2 separate regions of the Homo sapiens genome follow, and region 1 is linked to region 2. The links are contacts of gene promoters, found by promoter capture Hi-C in blood cells and fetal thymus (Javierre and others, 2016). All regions are on one chromosome and are shown on one strand. Each heading gives the region's core, a stretch centred on a gene start or on the middle of the fragment in contact. The rest is flanking DNA. Distances are from core to core; before and after follow the strand shown.

Region 1 (2,966 bases), core at 418-2,917, 2.8 Mb after region 2:
GTTATCCTGTTTTATGATCAGACTGAACCCATCCTCTGTTTGTTGTTTGGCCTTGCTGGGATGTTTCATGACTACTCTGCAGTTCTTATCAACCTCCTTTAGCATACTCATGAAGCATCCTAGCTAGGCTAACAGGCGGGAAATTAGAATATGGAAGACACTGCTTAGAAACATATTACATTTAAATCACAGTTCAAATATGTGATCACCTCCAGTACACATGTGCACACACACACACACACACACACACAAAGGCAGCTTTAAGAGATTCTACCTCTTAGAAGGATGGCTGCTAGAAGTCATAATAAGGATAGCTTTAGGGACAGAGTCTTACAGGGACAGGGTCCTAGGTATGAATTTGAGAGGTTATACCTATAATAAATAGAGACTTAGTATGCACAAGACGTACTAATGCCCAAGGGACATGTTTTTCCTAGTTTTATAATCAGGATAATTTCTTCAATCTCTTGGGTTCTGAGTTACCCTTCTGTTCAGGAATCTGGTATCTCCCTTTGTAACTCATTCAATTAAACACATTTAACAACAACAACAAAAAAAAGGTGAAGGTAGTTATTTTTCACCAAATCTGTTCACCAAGGCTGTTCTGATTTATCAGCTCTAATTTTTCTCATGTAAGATCTAATTTTTAAACATCTGCACTTTTCAAAAGTATCAATGAGAAGTTTCCTATGTATTCATCAAAACTTTACGTCTTTCCTCTCATAAATGAAGTTAAGGTTCAGGTCTTTTCTTTAATATTTTATATGACTTTAGAGATGGCTACTCTAAATTTGCTCCCTATCATATCCTCTGTTGAGAACATGTGCCCACTGATCCTTTACCTAACGGAGGTTGTTGGATGTAATGAGCAGCAAGGGCCTCATACAGACTTCAGTTTGTGATGCGTCTATGAAATCTTTAATAGCCAGAATCAAGAGAGACCGGAAAAGTCACTTAAAAGAATTGATAATTCAAGAAATGAAATACAGGGCTTTTTAAATTTTAAATGATGTGAAACCCATGTTAGTGAACTTGATAAGTGTATAGCAAACAAGACAATAAATAAATAAGAGAATAGATATTCTTGGATATACTGATAGTATTATTTTACCATGAAAGCAACAGATTGCTTTCAATAGATAATATTGATCCTCATTTCTAATGACATGAGAAATACTTGCTCCAAGTGAATCTGAAAGTATGGTCTTTGAGCGCCATTTCTATAATCCAAATACTCTGTTTAAAGGAAAAGGAAGATAGAGGATGAGAGTATTTTAACTGAGCATTTATTTTGCCAGTCTCTGTAATAAGTGTTTTCCAATTATTATTTTATTTCATCCTTACATTCTTCCAGATCAGTATTACTCCATTTGTTGATGGAAATAAAGCTCAGAGAGGTTGATTATATAGCCAAAAATTGCACAGCAATGGTAAGACATTTCAAATTGTTGCAAAGTTAAAAAGAGGCCAGGCGCAGTGGCTCATGCCTGTGATCCCAGCACTCTGAGAGGCTGAGGCGGGCAGACCACGAGGTCAGGAGATTGAGACCATCCTGGCTAACACGGTGAAACCTCATCTCTACTAAAAAAAATACAAAAAAAATTAGCCGGGCATTGTGGCGGGTGCCCGTAGTCCCAGCTACTCGGGAGGCTGAGGCAGGAGAATGGGGTGAACCCGGGAGGCGGAGCTTGCAGTGAGCTGAGATCACGCCACTGCACTCGCCTGGGCGACAGAGCGAGAATCCGCCTCAAAATAATAATAATTATTATTATTACGCTGTGTTCAGAAGCCTCCAAGGAAGTACTTTTAATGTTATTAATGGTTTTGCAAAATCAAAACAAGTGGGTAGAGATTAGTGGTAGGGAGAGGACGAAGCAGAGCACTTAGTGGTTTAGAGTATTTTGCTGTTGGCAGGAAGTCAACAATTTGTATAAAGATTGAGTAGCCCTGACATGGGCTATGGAGAGCTGTGAAATGACAGGAGTCATTACACCAGAATAGCAAATGGAATTCTTTTAGAAGTTGGCTCCTGGTTGAACAAGTGGAAGACAGCAACATTTTCAGAAGTCCTGCAGACACTAGTGCCGCTGACATAAAGAACAGTGTATCAAGTGGTAACAAATAGAAAATATATGTGGAGATATTTGTCTTTTCAAACACATGGCACAAGACCAAAACCAAGTAACTGTTATTGGAATCATCATTGAAAATTAGGGACATAAATATTTAAAATAAATAAATAATACATTCATTTATTTCATTATTAAATTGGTGTTATTATAACTACTTCACAACCGGAACACCTAAACTTTGGATGGTGAAATGACACTTATAAGGCAACACAAAAATTAAGAGAAGTACATGGGAACTCCCTGCCAACGATGTATAAGTTTGTTTCATCTGGCATTTGCCAACTTGAGTGGCAATATATTGTTTCTCTCGTAGATGTCACAAATGATCTAGTGAGATAAACTTGCATTAGCTCTCCAACTAAATAGAGTATGTGGCTCAACTACTGCCTCCCCTCCCAGACACACGTGTAGAACCCACACGTACAGCATTGCCTACACTCAAGAGTCTAAAATCCATTCCTAGAATTAGATTTTCTTAATTAAACAATTTGTGTAATTTTAAGGATCTTGAAAGGGCGTACCAGTCTATACCTCATGTGCGTGCGTATGTGTGTGTGTGCGCATTTGGTGTGGTGTGGTGTGTGTGTGGTATATTCCTTTTTTGTTCTGTTAATATGGTGTATCGTACTGATGATTGATTTTGAAATTTTAAACCAACCTAGCATTTCTAAATAAACTTCACTTGGTCACAATATATTGTCCTTAACATATATTGTTAGATTTGATTTGCTATTTTGTTAAGGATTTTGTGTCTACAGCGTATTTATGAGGGATACTGGTATGTAGTTCTATTTTATTTAGATACATTTTTCTGGTTTAGAATCAGGGTAACAC
Region 2 (2,725 bases), core at 224-2,723:
AAAAGCAAAATCTAGAACATAAAACTTAATCCAGAATTTATTTCAAAGTTTCACTTGAAACTTTTAAAGGTTTATTATACTGGGTCTAGATCTGTTTAACAGTGAACTGTTTTTGCAAGACATTTTGGCCAAAAAGCACCTAGCATAGTGTCAGAATTGGGAGTTGGTGCTCAATTTTAAAATGTGTTGAAAAATTGTTAAATAAACTTCTCAACATACCTGTGCTCAAAGGCAATATAGGACATTTTAAGGCGTCTTTTAAAAGTTAGCCCTTGAAATCAGAATAGCATAGGGATTTTAAAGACTGGAATCTGTGGTCAAACTGCTTGGGTCAAAACACAGGCTCTACCACTGACAGCTGGATTTTGGGCAAGCCGCCTAAGTTATCTGTGACTTTAAGTTTCCTCACCTGTAAAATGGGAATTATAATAGCACCCACCTCACCGCATTGTCAGAAAAGTAAACGACAGAAATCAACATAAAGCATTTTAGGTAGTAAGCTCTCCATAAATGCTATCAATATTCAAAGGTATGTGTTCGAGAGATCAAATCTATTAAATATACATATCAGCTTTGATCAATTGAAATCTCGGAAATTTCATAATTGCATCTTACTCCCCCTTTCCACACATCATGCGGCATCAACCTTCCACATGATGTGGAAATTACATACTTTCATTCATCCGTTTGAGAGCTTGTCATATATGGCAAGAAAGAAGAAAGATGCCTTTTTCGTGACTGTTGCTCCTTCAGAACTTCAAAACACTGTCACGTACACAATAGGTTGGAGCTGCCCTCAAAATGACAGCTCACAGCTTTGCTGGGCCCGCAGAGGTGCCCAGGCGGCTCTGCCCGGAAGGGGTTCACCCCAATAACCGGAGAATCTCCGGTCGCCACAGCCAAGCACAGCGCACGCCCGGGAACCCCAAGGAACACAAGAGAACTCTGAAATGGGGAAGGACCCTGAGTTGTGGAGAAAGAGCGGGAGGAAGGGTCACGGAGGGTCCGGAGCCACACTCGGATCAGGCGCGTCCACGCTGACAAGCCCGGGACCAGGTGCCGGCGATAGGCAGCGCCGTCCTGGACAGTCCCTTCCCTTTCCCCTACCCGTCCCCTCCCCGGCGAGCACCGAAGCCAACTCGGGTCCCGCGCCAGAATTGCCCCCCGGCGCCCCCTCACCTAAAGGCGGGTCCTTCCTTAGGAGCCCTGCCCTGGGCAGACGCCGCCGCGGAGCTGCCGCTGCTGCCCCTTTTGTTGAAGAGCTTCTGGAGCAGGGTCGGGGCCATGATGCCGCCGCCGCAGCTCCGGCCGTGGCGCTCGGGGGGCCGGCGGCTCAGCGCGCAGCCGGGGGCGGCGGCCGCGGTGGCGGGGCCATCGCGGCGGCGCGGCCGCCCAGCCTTGCGGGAGCGCGGGGCCGCTGCGACTGAGTAACTCTGCTCGGCGCCGGAGCCGCCGGCTGCCGGTCATATGACTGAGCCGGCCCGCCACCGCCTCGCGCGCTGACAGTTATCTCCTGCGGGAGGAGCCCGCAGCCCCACGGCGGCGGCGGCGGCGCGGGAGGAGCGCGGCGGCCCCGGCGGCGGCCATTGGCCCGGCGGCCGCCCGCCCCGGGCTCACGTAACCCCGGCGGGAGGCGGGAGGTGGGAGGTGCGGCCAGGAGCGGGCGGGCGGCCCAGTACTCCGGGCACGCGGGGGACGCGGACGGGGGCAGGCGCGGCACTTAAAGGGGCCCGAGGGGCGAGGGCGGCCGCCGGGGCGCAGCTCCGCGAGTGGCGTGGGGTTCCCACGGAGCCTGGGTTCTTTCGCACAGCGAGCATGCAGCTAGGCCGATCTTTGTTCTTTAGAGACAAAGCCCCTGAACTTGGGTCCTCGCTTTGTTCAGGTACAAGAGCCCGTTCACAGAAGGCGTATGCTAGGGGGGAAGGCTTGGTACGCGCGGTGGCCGCTTCGGTGGGCTGTGATTTGAATCACATAGCACCCAAGGTTTTGTCAGGTTTCCTCCATGTCCAAATTCGATTCCTCCAGGCTTTCACAAAATTTAAACTGTTTATCCAAATCATTTGTTCTGTTTGGCGTCTTGGGCCACCATACCATGGTTATATAAGAAGTTGCATTTGAAATATTAAGTCCCCCCTTTAAAACATACACACACACACACACACACACACACACACACACACACAGAACTCACTACATAGATTTAGAAACTTAAGATATTTTATAGCAAGGGATTGTTTTTCCTAATACATATTTAACAGTCAATCAAGGCATATCAGCAGCAGATATTTGGTTTGAGGAAGGGAGGAGTTCATGTGTTTGAGTCCGCTTTCCTGCCCTGTCCCACCCCAGTCCCCTTTGGAATTTAATCCTTGGTGGTGCAGGGCTCTAAACAGCCAGTGTAGGACACGTTACCAGACTCAAAGCAACTTCTTAATCTATGTTTTAGAGCGTTGGGCTTCACGAATTTTTCCGATGATGGGAAATAGAGATAAAGTTAGTAAGACCCCAACCATGCCTCTTCTAGCTTCTCCATGAGTAGTGAACAGTGACTCACCTGGGCTCTCTTACACTTGTTGAGAGGAGGACTCTTGGAGACTCAAAAAGGAAAATATATTTCCAAAAACATAAGTAATCAAAAGAACCTATTCTGGGCCTATTTTACTTTGCATTTTCTTTTTTTAATTGTGTTAGTTTCTGGACTTGGTTGGGAACTAGCTGTGAATAA

The links. The method cuts DNA at HindIII sites, captures the fragments that hold promoters and counts their contacts. A CHiCAGO score of 5 or more calls a contact.
Region 1: a fragment that was not itself captured here is called in contact with the fragment with the promoter of FNIP2 in region 2 in 1 of 17 cell types (non-activated CD4 T cells); the score reaches 5.9 in non-activated CD4 T cells.

What each region holds. Positions count from the first base shown.
Region 1 is chr4:155,945,659-155,948,624 of GRCh38, reverse strand. The region is part of intron 1 of CTSO (cathepsin O); the gene reads left to right. Among named protein-coding and RNA genes, the nearest start is that of CTSO, 6.7 kb to the left of the region's middle. The HindIII fragment of the contact is 6,081 bases long and covers 1-2,966 here.
Region 2 is chr4:158,767,774-158,770,498 of GRCh38, reverse strand. It overlaps FNIP2 (folliculin interacting protein 2), which reads right to left and starts at 1,473. Exons shown (of 17, transcript NM_020840.3): 1 at 1,180-1,473. The coding sequence starts at 1,286. RefSeq lists an enhancer at 828-1,565 and a silencer at 1,523-1,732. The HindIII fragment of the contact is 6,862 bases long and covers 1-2,725 here.